Linked DNA regions of Homo sapiens: regions 1, 3, 4 and 5 are each linked to region 2. The links are contacts of gene promoters, found by promoter capture Hi-C in blood cells and fetal thymus (Javierre and others, 2016). All regions are on one chromosome and are shown on one strand. The core of a region is centred on a gene start or on the middle of the fragment in contact, and the rest is flanking DNA. Distances in the headings are between cores, read along the strand shown.

What was found. Contacts are between HindIII fragments. The CHiCAGO score rates a contact against its expected background, and 5 or more counts as called.
Region 1: a contact is called between a fragment that was not itself captured here and the fragment with the promoter of ELAC2 in region 2, in 1 of 17 cell types (neutrophils). The highest score is 5.6, in neutrophils.
Region 3: a fragment that was not itself captured here is called in contact with the fragment with the promoter of ELAC2 in region 2 in 1 of 17 cell types (neutrophils); the score reaches 6.1 in neutrophils.
Region 4: a contact is called between a fragment that was not itself captured here and the fragment with the promoter of ELAC2 in region 2, in 1 of 17 cell types (neutrophils). The highest score is 14.3, in neutrophils.
Region 5: a contact is called between a fragment that was not itself captured here and the fragment with the promoter of ELAC2 in region 2, in 1 of 17 cell types (monocytes). The highest score is 6.6, in monocytes.

Annotation. Positions count from the first base shown.
Region 1 is chr17:10,713,723-10,716,422 of GRCh38, forward strand. It overlaps TMEM220 (transmembrane protein 220), which reads right to left. Exons shown (of 6, transcript NM_001004313.3): 6 at 1-1,866. The coding sequence ends at 1,731. It also overlaps the pseudogene MAGOH2P. Among named protein-coding and RNA genes, the nearest start is that of TMEM220-AS1, 15 kb to the right of the region's middle. The HindIII fragment of the contact is 7,044 bases long and covers 1-2,700 here.
Region 2 is chr17:13,016,645-13,019,344 of GRCh38, forward strand. It overlaps ELAC2 (elaC ribonuclease Z 2), which reads right to left and starts at 1,383. Exons shown (of 24, transcript NM_018127.7): 1 at 1,059-1,383; 2 at 427-477; 3 at 218-288. The coding sequence starts at 1,303. RefSeq lists enhancers at 699-1,199, 711-820, 841-900 and a silencer at 1,421-1,500. The HindIII fragment of the contact is 8,738 bases long and covers 1-2,700 here.
Region 3 is chr17:10,644,445-10,647,184 of GRCh38, forward strand. MYH3 (myosin heavy chain 3) reads right to left here. Exons shown (of 41, transcript NM_002470.4): 10 at 2,738-2,740; 11 at 1,485-1,588; 12 at 1,263-1,401; 13 at 140-258; 14 at 1-56. Among named protein-coding and RNA genes, the nearest start is that of MYH3, 11 kb to the right of the region's middle. The HindIII fragment of the contact is 2,109 bases long and covers 203-2,311 here.
Region 4 is chr17:10,684,182-10,686,974 of GRCh38, forward strand. It overlaps SCO1 (synthesis of cytochrome C oxidase 1), which reads right to left. Exons shown (of 6, transcript NM_004589.4): 5 at 2,546-2,661. Among named protein-coding and RNA genes, the nearest start is that of SCO1, 12 kb to the right of the region's middle. The HindIII fragment of the contact is 3,317 bases long and covers 1-2,793 here.
Region 5 is chr17:15,240,065-15,242,764 of GRCh38, forward strand. All of the region lies in intron 3 of PMP22 (peripheral myelin protein 22), which reads right to left. Among named protein-coding and RNA genes, the nearest start is that of MIR4731, 10 kb to the right of the region's middle. The HindIII fragment of the contact is 1,819 bases long and covers 475-2,293 here.

The DNA of each region.
Region 1 (2,700 bases), core at 54-2,553, 2.3 Mb before region 2:
CTTTTTACTCATTCAAGTCTTAATCTTAGATAATTTCTCACCATTCAGTGGCCACTGTGCCAATAACAAAAACAAAATACACATACCTCCTTTAACAAATATTTATAGAATATTTACTATAGTAATAAAGACAATAAAAATAGACAAACTACCAGACTCATTTACACTCTCCTAACCTGTGGAAGGCACTACTCGTTCTTTTTGAGTGAAGTATTTCCCAGATCTCTTTCCTAGATCAGAAAAAACAGTATCTGACCACAGAGTTTGATGCTTGTGTATGTAAAATGTTGCCATCTAGATACTTAAATACAGGACTGTCCAACAGAAATGCAATGTAAGCCACGTAAATAAAAGTAAACAGAAACAGATAAAATCAACTTTAATAGTATATTTAACCCATTATAGCCAAAATATTGTTTCAACATGTAATCAATACAAAAAATATTTTCTGTTCTTTTTCTACCATGTCTTTAAAATCCAGTGTATTTTACATTTATAGCCCCACTCATTTGGACACTAAATTTTCATTGGAAATACTTTATCTGTATTTAGGTATCATAAAATTTGCAATTGGAAAATTAGATTCAAATACCCAAGTTGTTCCAAACACAATTGTAAGTTTTCCAATAATCAAGTATCCATTTTTAAATGAAAATGGAAATGAAAAAAAAAAAAGCTCTCCTCCCTAGGATTACTTTGGACATCCATTTATAAAGAATGTATATAGATTTTGACCTTATTTCTCATTTAGAATGTAGTTATAGTCCCTATTGCCTTCTTGTTTGGTCCCTAATTCCTTTATTCTATCCAGCTTCCCTTTCTTTCCAAGACATGCCTGCTCATTTGATTCATCTAGAGTTCTCCTTTAGTTCACTGCACTATGCCAGCTCTGGATAAGATTAGTTTAGGGCTGGACTGGGCATGGTGGCTCACACCTGTAATCCCAGCACTTTGGGAGGCCAAGGTGGACAGATCGCTTGAACTCAGGAATTCAAGACCAGCCTGGACAACACGGTGAAACCCTGCCTCTACAAAAAATTTAAAAAAATTTAGCCGGGCATGGTGGTGCACACTTGTAGTCGTAGCTTCTTGGGAGGCTGAGGTAGGAGGATCACCTGAGCCCCGGGAGGTCAGGACTGCAGTGAGCCATGATCATGCCACTGCACTCCAGCCTGGGCAATAGAGTGGGACTGTCTTAAAAAAAAAAAAAGATCGGGGTATAGCCCTCTCTTGAATGTCTATTTCAGTATATTACCCAATCCCTGCTCCCCTCTATTTTAATCATGGGCAGCCCTCCGTAATCTTTCCAAACACTTTATATCTTCAGAGTGTTCTTACATTATCTAGATTGATCCTTGTTACTGTGTAAGTAAGTAGATCTGGCATTAATCCTATTTTATAGATAAATATCCACCAGGAGGTTTATATATTTGCCCAAATTACATAGTTACAAAGTTAAGTTAGAACTCGTATTTTTAAACTTCTATTCTCTAGCCTTTTCCACTACATTATGACACAAGACCCTGCAGAAAGTCGTCTGGAAAATATCAGACCATCTCTTACTTGTCCCATCCAATCTTACATCGAATTATATGCACCCTTAAAAAGTTATTTGGAGTTTTAAAACTATTAGCCCAAATTACCTGAAATAAACTCCTGGCTTGTTCCCCTAATGTTTATAAAAAATTGATTGAAAATATTCATTTTAAAAACGAAGTTCTTGAATTTATTTAAATTACTGTCTTGCAGTGAGTTGGCCAAGAGGACCGCATTTCCTTGTTAATATATATGTAGACCCATGAGATAAATGGGAAAAGTGTGATTACAATGGCAATAGCCAATTGAATTCTTCCACCAACTGGATTCCTATAAAGACACAAAAATTATTATAAATAAAAATCATGGATTGCTTTGGAAACAAGTATAAAGACTGAATTGATAAAACACATAATTACATTTTAGTATGTTCTCATCTCAGTTGTTTTATTGAAATATAACATTGATTTATAGAAATTATTTATATATATGCTAAATATAAATCCTTGTTTATATGTGTTACAAATACCTTGTCCCATTTGATGTCTTTTGAGGAAGAGAAGTCATTGATTAATTTGACAATGTTAAAGTTGATCTTTTCCTAATGATTTTTGTGCTGTTTAAGAATTTCCCTCACCAAGGTTTTGAAGGTATTCTCTAGAAGTTTTGTTTTGCTTTTTTTAAATTTTATCACATATTTATTAAAGATAATCATTTATAGTTTATAAAAATATACTGCCCTGACACAAAATGTTCTTGATAATGGTAATTAAAAACTACTCCCACCCCCCCATGTCCACATCAATATTCAGTTTAGATTGGTTTAATCTTGAAGTGTAATCCAGTAAGACTGAAGACCAAACACTTCAGGGTCCTGGACAGGATAATAAAATACTCATAAGCCTTCTGGATCCTTGGATTGACTGACATCAATAAGGGAACCAATTTTTGATGTTGTAAAAGAAATGTGTTCATCTCCAATAATGATTTCAAGCTCCTGCCGGCCCTCTCGGTTGGGAGGAGGCCATAACGCATCATCCTCTTTGGTAATTTCACTGTCATCAATTATACTCTTCAGTTCCTCCATCATACTTTTATGTACATAAGCCTCTTTTCTGATCATGACATCATTCTTGTAATTGCTGTGTTGGCTTATCTTAATTT
Region 2 (2,700 bases), core at 133-2,632:
TGGGGCACACGTGTGGTCCCAGCTATTTGGGAGGCTGAGGTGAGGGGATCACCTGAGCCCAGAAGGCAAAGGTTGCAGTGAGCCAAGATCACGCCACTGACAAAAAAAAAAAAAAAAAAAAAAGTAGCTGCCCACCCCAGACTTGGAAAAATGGTAAAGCCGGTTAAAATCCCAGAGACTTCCCACCAGCCTCTGACACTGCAAAGAATATACTCACCACTTAAGCCCCCAACATTAGACCAGTGCATTCGTGTCAGGAATATGTTGTCCAGGCGAGCAACCTTTAACCTAAGAATGAAAAAACATTTAAACAGGATAACATGAACAGAACAAGGACCACTTTTGCTATAAAAAACAACTGGCCTCTCATTTCGGCTTTCAAGCCCCGTAATCAACTCCCCCTCCGAAAGCAAGAGACTGACTCACTTGTGCTCCTGCATGAGTCTCTGAACGCCTTCTCCACAGTTGAAGAGATACCTACAAGACAAACATTACACAAGACATTCAGAAGGTTTTATTCTGTAAACTCTCTGACACCAATTAGATGTTTTATTGTAGACTCTGGAAAAAAAAAAAAGAAAAAAAAATTAAAAGTCCACGTTGGACTACCGAGCCACATTTATGCTGGTGGGTTTTGAGCCCTCCTTAGCAGAGGTGGAGAGGAGTGGGGGCCTGTGTGTGTGGGTGCTAGGACAAAATGAGTCCTTTCTCCACCACCGGCTACACACCAGATCTGTCCACCCCACACGCTAACAACGACACACTGGCCTTGGGGTGCACGGAAGAGGGTGGAGCTCCGAAAGTGCTGACAGCCAGGCCGGGGCCCAAGGGTTGGGAAAAGGACGCTCAGACCCAGGCCTGAAGTTCTTCACAGATCCGCAGAAATCACATGGATGCAAAGAATCTCGGATTTCCCACCCACCATAACTCCACGAACCCCCGCAACAGTGAACCACATGTGTGAAGCAGGGAAGCCGAAGCCCTGGGAGGTGCCCCGATGCTCAGAGGCTGCGCCGCACTGAGGGCCCAGCGGGACGGGGCGTGGCTCGTTGACTGACCGGTTGAACTCGGAGAAGACGTAGAGCGCGGCGCCCGAGTCCCGGCTACCCGCTGCCACCACCTGCAGGTACACGGTGTTTGGGCCGCCGGAGCACCCCGACGGTCCGCGCTTCTCTCGCGTGCGCAGGTGCCGCAGCGGGTCCTTGCGCGGCCGCTCGCGGCGGGCGGGTGCCTGCGATATGGTGCGTCCCTGCGACATGGTGCGTCCGGCCGCGGACCGCAGCAGCGAGCAAAGCGCCCACATGCGCCCGTCTCCACCAAAACTGAGAAAGCCGCCGGTCACCTACGCCCGCGTTTCCCGTGCACCACCTAGCCGCTCCGCATGGCGGATCCAGCCAATCAGCGCGCCGTGCACCGAGCTTCCCGCCTACGCGAGGCTGCTCATCCAATAGAAAGGAGCTTTACCGCTCGGGACTTGTCAATTGACAGTGGCCATAGAGTAGAGGAATACTAGAGCGTCTCAAGCGGCCCCGCCCCTAGTTCTGTTCCGGTTTGCCGGCCGCAATTTTTTCCGGAAGCTGTTTTTCTCCTGGGGCGGGACTTCCGGAAGCACAGTGCCAGGAAAAGCCTTCCTGGGGAAGGCGGGACCTAGGAGTTTGGAGTTTCGCTAAAACGCTCCTGTTCTCACCAGATAAGAGCTGTGTCCTCCGGGCACGTCAGTCCCTCAGAGCTTGAGTTAGAGGTGGTTGTAGTGGTTGTGAGGATTAAATGTGAGGAAATCAATTGTATTGAGCATTAGCATAAGCGCTTTGCTAATTTTATTTCCATTGTAATTCGTATGCATACATGTTAGAACTTGATCATTTTTACGTGGTGTCCCGAGCTTGTAGTCCCAGCTACTTGGGAGGCTGAGGCAGGAGAATCGCTTAAGCGCGGAGGCGGAGGTTGCGGTGAGTCGAAATCGCGCCACTGCACTCCAGCCTGGGTGACACCTCGAGACCCTGTCTCAAAACAAAACAAAACAAAACAAAAATTGTAGTGTTTTTTGGAAAGAAAAGCAAGAATAGAGGACAAGCTCTAAAGCAAGAGTCTTGGCTCATTTGTTAGCTGCGTGATCTTGACCTCTCAGAGCCTCAGCTTTCTTATGTGTAAAATGTAATAACAGCAATAACAGTATCTCCTACTTCAGAATATAGAATTCAGTCACCTGATAATATATCAATAGACCTTTGAGTGGCACTGTCACAGAAGAGGCACCCAGTAAATGATAGAAAATTAATACAAAATGTTTCAACTCCTAGACAATATAGCTGACCAGGGACATCACAGAGGTAGATGTCCCAATACCAGCTTTTTGAAAAAAACACCCAGTCCCCTCTTATGTAGCTAATGAGGATTTCTCACTGAAAGGGATATCAGTTAAAGCCGCTAGAAATACAGGGAGCTCCCTTAAAAGAGGAAGATAATTTACCTGGAAGCTCCACTCAAATATGATTTTTTAAAGATAATTTACCTGGAAGCTCCACTGACATATGATTTTTTTAAATAAATACTGAAAGATGTCACTTTTATTCAGGAAGTAAGGGAGATTCAAGTCATGTAGATTCCTACTCGAAAATCTTGACACCTGACTTTCCAGGATCACATTTTCATATGGAGACCAGTTTCCTCTTGGTTTCTTCAGTTAAGTCAAAACTACAC
Region 3 (2,740 bases), core at 7-2,506, 2.4 Mb before region 2:
CACAAGAACAACTTTTCATAAACTGATTTTGAAAGAGCATTCACAGCATGGTGAACCTATCAGGGGAAAGATCAGCTACTGGATATGAAGGAAGTGGCCAGCAGGGTCCTGCACCCTTTCCCGGCCTTGAAGCTGTTACCTGATCCACAGTTTGACCTTTGGTAACGTACTCATTCCCAACTTTCACTCTAGGAAAGCACAAAGCTTTTAGGAGGTCCGAAGAGTTCAGGCCCATCAGATAGGCTGTTTTGTCAGCCACTGGCAAGAAAACAAGGACAGTGCTTAGAAAAGTAGAAGAGCTGCTTTGAAAATCATCCAGAAGTTTCAAAGGTTGGTTAAGTTCATCTTGGTACATTGTGCATTCCCTGTGGCTAAACTGCATATACATGGCCAATGGAAGCTAAGTCACTCAGAGAATATAATGGACTTTATGAAAAGCCAGGGCTGGGTCTCAGAAAGCCCTGGTCATCCCTCACTGCATCTGAAACAAGACTATTCGAGTGATTCAGGAAAAGCGAGTGGTAACAATAGCTATGGGCATCGGAGGCCCAGAAAGGGTCATTCACTTCTCCAGATGGAAGGATTAATCGCTTCCATCCATTTTTTTTTTTTTGAGACAGTCTTACTGTGTTGCCCAGGCTGGAGTGCAGTGGCACGATCTCAGTGCACTGCAACCTCTGCCTCCTGGGTTCAAGAAACTCTCATGCCGGCAGGGCACAGTGGCTCACACCCGTAATCACAGCACTTTGGGATGCCAAGGCAGGCGAATCATTTGAGGTCAGGAGTTTGAGCCTGGCCAACATGGTGAAACCCCGTTTCTACTAAAAATACAAAAAAGTTAGCCAGGCGCGGTGGTGTGTGCCTGTAATCCCAGCTACTCGGGAGGCTGAGGCAGGAGAATCACTTGAACCCAGGCAGCAGAGGTTGCAGTGAGCTGAGATCATGCCACTGCACTCTAGCCTGGATGACAGAGCAAAACTCTGTCTGACTCTCGTGCCTCAGCCTCCTGAGTAGCTGGGATTATAGGCATGCTCCACCATGCCCAGCTAATTTTTTTTAGTAGAGATGGGGTTTCACCATGTTGGCCATGCTGGTCTCGAACTCCTGACCTCAGGTGATCTGGCCCCCTCAGCCTCCCAAAGTGCTGGGATTACAGGTGTGAGCCACTGTGCCTGGCTGGATTAATTGCTTTCAAAAGCAGTACCAAGTGACCTCAGCAGATCAGCCACCCGCTCTGGTTTGCTGTCACACTGATTTTGTACCTTCTGTGCCATCCGGCTCGGCCTGCTCCTCTCGCTGCTTCTGCTTGAACTTCATGTTCCCGTAGTGCATCACGGCTCCCGTCAGCTTGTAGAGCCCAGATTTCTCTTCTGGGGTGAAGCCCAGGATGTCAATGGCGCTCTGGCATGGAAAGGGCAGCACGTCAGTCAGTTGGCCCCAGTGATGGAGGAGGAACACCCACCCCTTCTGTTGGTTCCACTTACGTCTGTAGCCAGCAGCTCCTCTGCATCATCTATGCTGGCCACCAGGATCTCCCCCTGGCTAATGAACGGGTAGTCGTAAGGGTTGGTCGTAATAAGCAGCAGCTCTGAAATGACAAATAGTTCCAGGAGGTTATGCAGATGCAAAGAAAAAACCCACCCAGTGGACTTGAGCTCCTGCACCCTGGGCTGGAACTTTTACCGCTGGATCCTAAATTGAACTTAGAATTAAAAATCTTTTAGACAGTTCCACAATACTCAGGCTGTCATGGAAAATATAGTCCAGGGAAGACTTTTCAGTCTCCCACACAATGGAGATGAAGGACCCTAGAGAGAACCTTTAAATTCCCTTGCCTTGCACGCTAATGGTGCATATCAGTGTCGGCTGGGAGAAGTTAATAGGGAAAACTGGCTGAGTGCGGGTCAGGACGAGAGCCAACCCAGGTGGTTTGGTATAATCATAGCCTTTTCTAAAATCTGTTGAAAAGCAGCAGCCTGTTTCCAAGCTGGAGACCAGAAGGCTGAGCAAATACAGCCAAAGAGCAAAGAAGCAGTGTGCATGGAGACCTCTGTGAGGGGCAGACAAGGGGCAGTGTGCAGTGCCTCCGTGGGCTTGATTATTCTGTTTGCTTTGGCGTCGCATTTGGCCATAGGTTGTTTCTGTGCCAGAACACAAGGGGGCGCCAAAGGACAGTTAGGTGTTCAGTTGCTCAGAAGGTTTTTATAAACCAGAGCTGGTCAGGAGTGGTCTAATCTTGTTGCCCTCCATTTGATTAGGTTTTCAAATTGGCATGTCACTGCCCAGATAGCCACATCCCATTTCTAAAATAAGCTTTTCCTGGCAAAGTGCAGTGGCTCACACCTATAATCCCAGCACTGTGGGAGGCCGAGTCGGGCAAATTGCTTGAGCCCAGGAGTTCAAGACCAACCTGGGCAACATGGTGAAACCTCATCTCTACAAAAAACACAAAAGGTAGCCTGGTGTGGGGGCATGCACCTGTAGTCGCAGCCACTCGGGAGGCTGGGGCTGGAGGATTACTTGAACCCAGAAAGGTCAAGACTACAAGTGAGCTGTGCTTGTGCCACTGCACCCCAGCCTGGGCATCAGAGTGAGACCCTATCTCAAAATAAATAAATAAAATAAAATAAACTTTCCCTGTTGACTGTAGAGTCACTCTACGTAGATACAACTCTCCTTGGTCTAGTGATCAGAGTCAAACTACCTAAAAGACCAGCCCCACTGGTGACTTCCTCACCTA
Region 4 (2,793 bases), core at 68-2,567, 2.3 Mb before region 2:
ATAAGACTTACATATTTTTGTTTTCATTTGTAATTAAAAACATTAATATCCATATTCTGGATTATCTGTGTTGTGAGTATAAATTTCAGTGCCCAGGCTTGTGTTTGCTCCATGATCTCACTGGCACCTAGCTGCCCACTGCTGTTACAGGCAGACATGAATATGATACATTCTTGCCAAATCAACACTAACCAGGCAAGGCAGGCTACACGATTAAAGGTTTCAAAGTATTTTAAATAGAAAATGCAGAGGGGCAGTTGAGTAGAGTTGGGTATGTGATAGCAGTCTGACCAAAACCCCCTCCCTTCTTGCCCTGAGCAGCACTTTGGTTTCAGCAAAATCTCTTGTCAATGTAACTGAATGTTTTCAATTTAAGTTTTGCAGGCTGTTTGGGTTTATTTGTACAACTGCTTTCTGATTTGACTTTCTGACTCTGAGTTATGAGTTCTAAGCATCAAGACTATGGAGTGTTACCTAGTTTAGGACTGTATACATTTAAACAATTTAATATAACTCATTTAATGCTGGAAATCAGACTGATGAGCTCATCTATTCCTGCTGTCATCATCGGATAAACTCAAAACCAGTTAATACAACTCTCTATAAAGACAGAAGTCCGGAAAGTCCTTTTCCTATGGTTTCCTCTTTTGGCCACTGTGGCTCTCTGCTCTTCTCTCATTCTGCTAGAGAAGCAGCAAGAGGAAAACAGAGGAGGGTCCCTCTACTTTCCTTACAATTAAGGCTTAAAGAAAAGTGCTCATTTTTCTCATCTTTTACTCCAAGGAATCCAAGTTTCCCTAATTCTACGAGGCACCACATCTGGAAGACAGGATTACTGTGTAGGCTTAATTAAGGCAAACAGGCCAGAACCTTGCTTTTAATTCAGGCTGTAGGCTCCAGGGGCACACACGTTCCAGGTTCAAAGGGACAAAGAAATCATAGTTGGCTGTTGAGACAAAGCACTGCAGTGAGACATCCCATCCCCTCTGCATCTCAACTCTTGGGATGGGCCATGGGGAGCTGCTGGATCAGTGACTCAGGGTCTTGGCCATCTTTCTTTCTACAAAGACAGCTTCACAGCTAGAAAGGCTCTTAGGATTACTCTGCCCAAACAATATTATAGAAAAAACAGAGTATGACAACTAAGAAAAATACTGAAATAATGCTAAAATACAACGCCGACTCTTCATATGATAGGAGAAAAATGTCCAAATTGAGAGGAAAATTGGTGGATAGTGGTGGTGCTAATGCCTTTTGGTGCTTCACTGTGAAACCACTGACAAGAAAAGAAACACAGTAACTTGGGCATGACCTTAAGGCTTCTGGGGCAGTGCTGATGAATATGAAGATAGTTAATTTAAGAGCTACACAAGTACAACAGAATTTCTGTTCCTTATCATTAAAAAGCACATATTTAACGCCTAACTGTCCAAGGCATATAGTCAATGGGCAAATAAACCTTTCATCTTTTGCTTTTCAGAATTCTCATTCAACCTAAAAATGCAGTTCTCCATGGCCTAAAACTGGTTCTCCAGAAGAGCAATTTCTGATACCTCTACTGGGGACACAGTGAGAACCAACACAATCTTTTTAAAATAAGTGTTGTTCCAAATGATGGCTTCTCTTTATTTCCAACATGGCACCCAAGTATCTGGTTTTAAACTGCCCTAAAATCCTATATGCCACTATAAGAGAAAAACAGGCAATTGAATTATGAGAACAGTGAATATAAATCAAACAATCATCTTTTAAAAAACTGCTTCTGGCTGGGCGCAGTGGCTCAGGCCTGTAATCCCAGCACTTTGGGAGGCTGAGGTGGGCAGGGCAGACCACCTGAGGTCAGGAATTCGAGACCCCCTGGCCTCGCCTGGCCAACATGGCAAAACTCCTTCTCTACTAAAAATACAAAAACTAGCCAGGCGTGGGAGCACATGCCTGTAATCCCAGCTACGCGAGAGGCTGAGGGAGGAGAATTGCTTGAATCCGGGAGGCGGAGGTCGAAGTGAGCCAAGATCGCACCACTGCACTCCAGCCTGGCTGACGGAGTGAGACTCCGTCTCGAAAATAAATAAAAAGTAAAAAACATGCTTCTATTATCCTTTCAAATATTCAAAATTCCTAAGGAGGCTGGATGCGGTGGCTCACGTCTGTAATCCCAGTACTTTGGGAGGCTGAGGCGGGTAAGGTCAGGAGTTCGAGACCAGCCTGGCCAACGTGGTGAAACCCCGTCTCTACCAAAAAATATAAAAAAGTAGCCAGGTGTGGTGGCGCGCACCTGTAATCCCAGCTACTCGGGAGGCTGACATAGGAGAATTGCTTGAATCTGGGAGGCGGAGGTTGCAGTGAGCGAAGATTGTGCCACTGCACTCCAGCCTGGATGACAGAATGAGACTCCATCTCAAAAAAAAAAAAAAAAAAATTCCTAAGGACTTTGCAATAATCTTAGGTATTCTCTCTTCTCAGAAGCTAGTCAGTCATTGAAAGCCTTATGACTATTTGGGATCTGGGAGCTGGTCCATGGGTTAAAACTGGAACATTTACTCACTATGTAGTCTTCATCTTCGTCCTTGGGGCCAGGGCTGTAATACACTCTGTATGCTCTGGCCACTTGATCGACCTCTTCTCTCGTGCCAGTCAAGCCAACCAGTTTGGGAGAAAATTCTAAATAAAAAATGAGAGAGACAGTGAAAAATGAGAAGCCAGTAAAACAACCATCTCTACTTCAAAAAATGTATCAGTTGTAAAGCAGCTCTACTGCCACTTTCTTCCTGTGAGTCTCCAAACATTTCTTCA
Region 5 (2,700 bases), core at 134-2,633, 2.2 Mb after region 2:
GAGTTAAAGTCATTTTAAAATATATTGAATTTCCTTCCAGTGTTGGTGCAAATGTGTTACTTATGTACATGTGTCTGTGTTAAAGAGGGCCTGAGCCCTGCCTACTACCTTCCCTCTTCTTGCCCTCAGGGGTCTTTGAAGGGCTTATCAGAACTTCTGTATTCCAAGAAAAATAGCTTAAAACCACTATTCAAATTATCTGCATTCCCCAAGGAGAGGTAAAGATCACGGGAATGGCTGTTAGAGCCCAAAGTAATTTTTTGGAAGAATGGAAGAAAATACTGATGAAGAAAGGTATGCTCTCTATAGGTATGGAAATCAATTTGCTTGGACAACCCGTATTTTTTTTTTTTTTTTTTTTTGGTCAACTCTGATCATGGCCATTAGCCTCAGCACAGAGCGGTGTGTGATCGCCAACCACCAGACGGGATGAAGGCTTACACTTCCTTATCTCTGTTGAACCCCAAATCTCCAAGCTTCCAACTGAAATTCAGGCAAGAAGACAGAGCCTCCTATGGTTTCTTCAGTTCACCATCCGCTGCAAACTCATGTCATTTCAGGGAGGAAAGAAGAAACAACCTGAGTTCCACACTGTAGAGGGAAGCCCAGGGTAAAAATCTGCATTTGGCCTCTGTCTTGTCTTCCAAGTGCCACAGAATGCTGGGGGCAGGCACTGCTCTCATGGAGGAAGGGCAACTGGGGAAGCTGCAGCATTTAATCCTTTCAGCTCAGTAACTGCCATATGTAATGGCTTCAAAAGCATACCTTCAATGCTTCACCCAGTACTCACAGCTCTGAAATCTGGATGGTTTATAATTAGTAACTGAGTAAGATAAACTTGTTTTGAGTTGTAAGCAGCTCATGGCAGAATTTTAAGGGTGCAAATTAGGTTAACTGTTCCTAGATTTTCACCTAAGATGTTTCCAAGGCACAGACTGGAGATATTTTAGAGTTGGAAGAAACCTGAGAGATCAACTAGTCCAGCTCCTTTGCACTGAAAGAGATTTCCAGAGGTGTTTTCATGAGCCCAAATGACACAGCCAAATCTAAGAGGCCTTTGATTCTAGTCTAGCACTCTTCACATTCAAGCACAACATATGCTTCTTTCATTTTTTCAATTTCTTTGTCAATTAAAGTAAGAAAATGACGGCTAATGGGTTGTGAGCCATCCTGATTTCACTCTTACATAACCTTAATCAAATGTTTGTCTTTATCCAGCATAGAGGTTCTTCTGGAGGAGCACTTTGCAATAAAGATAATGTTCTCATAATATTGTTTGCTTAAAATAAAAAAATTATCTAGCACTTTGGTAGATGCAGCTGGAATTACAAAGAAATCTGAGACTCAAATCTGAAACTAAAACAAATAAAGGGATTCACTTTGGCTGGGAAATGTCCTTCCATGTGCATGTTCATGAGGAGTATGGCTGGTGGAGACAATATCTTAGATTTCCTTCTCCAATCCTGAGATACTGTCTTCACCCTTAACCCCGCGCCCCTGTCATTTTCAGCAGAAACTACTACGAGACCTCACATACACAGAAAACTTAAAATCTTTATATGTTAAATCTATATAAACAGAAAGTGTCTAATATTTAATAATATAACCTAAATACTTCTTGAAACATCTTTCAACATTAACTTGAATTTTAGTCCCAACCCCATTACAATTGAGCTCTTTGCCATAAGTTATTTCTCGAATCAAATCAGAATTAGAGGATCAAGGACATTTTTATTCAATGAGCATTTGTTGAATACCTACTGCTTTGAGCCAAGCCCTCTGGTTGACTCTGATGATCCAGAGATGAAGAAGATGGTTTTCAACCATAAGCACAATAAATAAAACACATGCATTAAGATAGTAAGTCTATCATCAACCACATTATATGTGAATGGGTTCAAGGCACTCATAAGATATGGAATTTTATCTTTGATTAAGACATTTTGGGAGGCTGAGGCAGGTAGATCACTTGAGGCCAGGAGTTCAAGACCAGCCTGGCCAACATGCCAAAACCCCATCTCTACGAAAAATACAAAAAAATTGGCCAGGTGTGCTGGTGGACACCTATAGTCCCAGCTACTTGGGAGGTTGAGGCAGAGAATCGCTTGAACTCAGGAGGTGGAGGTTGTAGTGAGCCAAGATCACACCACTGCACTCCAGCCTGGGCACAGAGAGAGACTCTGTCTCAAAAAAAAAAAAAAAAAAAAAAAAGAGAGACATTGTAGCTATATTCTAATATAATAGATACACCTAAAACAAGCAACAGTCAAAAACAAAAAAGATTCTGAAAAGAAGCTTCAGGCAAATGTTAACAAAAAAGAAAGAAGATAAATTAATAATAAAAAATAGAACTTATGTTGAAAGGATAAAAGTGGCCAGAGAGTTGTTTGGTTGTTTCATAGAGGAAAGATTTGGTTTATTTGATCTTTACTTCTGGTTTACATGATCTATGACTGAAGAAAATAAATCATTATGCATATAATAACATGGCCTGAAAAAGTTAAAATCAAAAAGTAATCAAAATATGAGAAGAAATTGTTAAAATCACAATAACAGTAGAAGACTTTAGCTTCCTTCCTCAAAATAGATGTCAGGTAGACCAAAAAGAAGAAAGAATATAGATTACATAAGAGGATTAACAAATCTGTCCTAATAGATGTATAGAAAACTTGTGTCTATATAGCAAAGTTATTTTCAAAC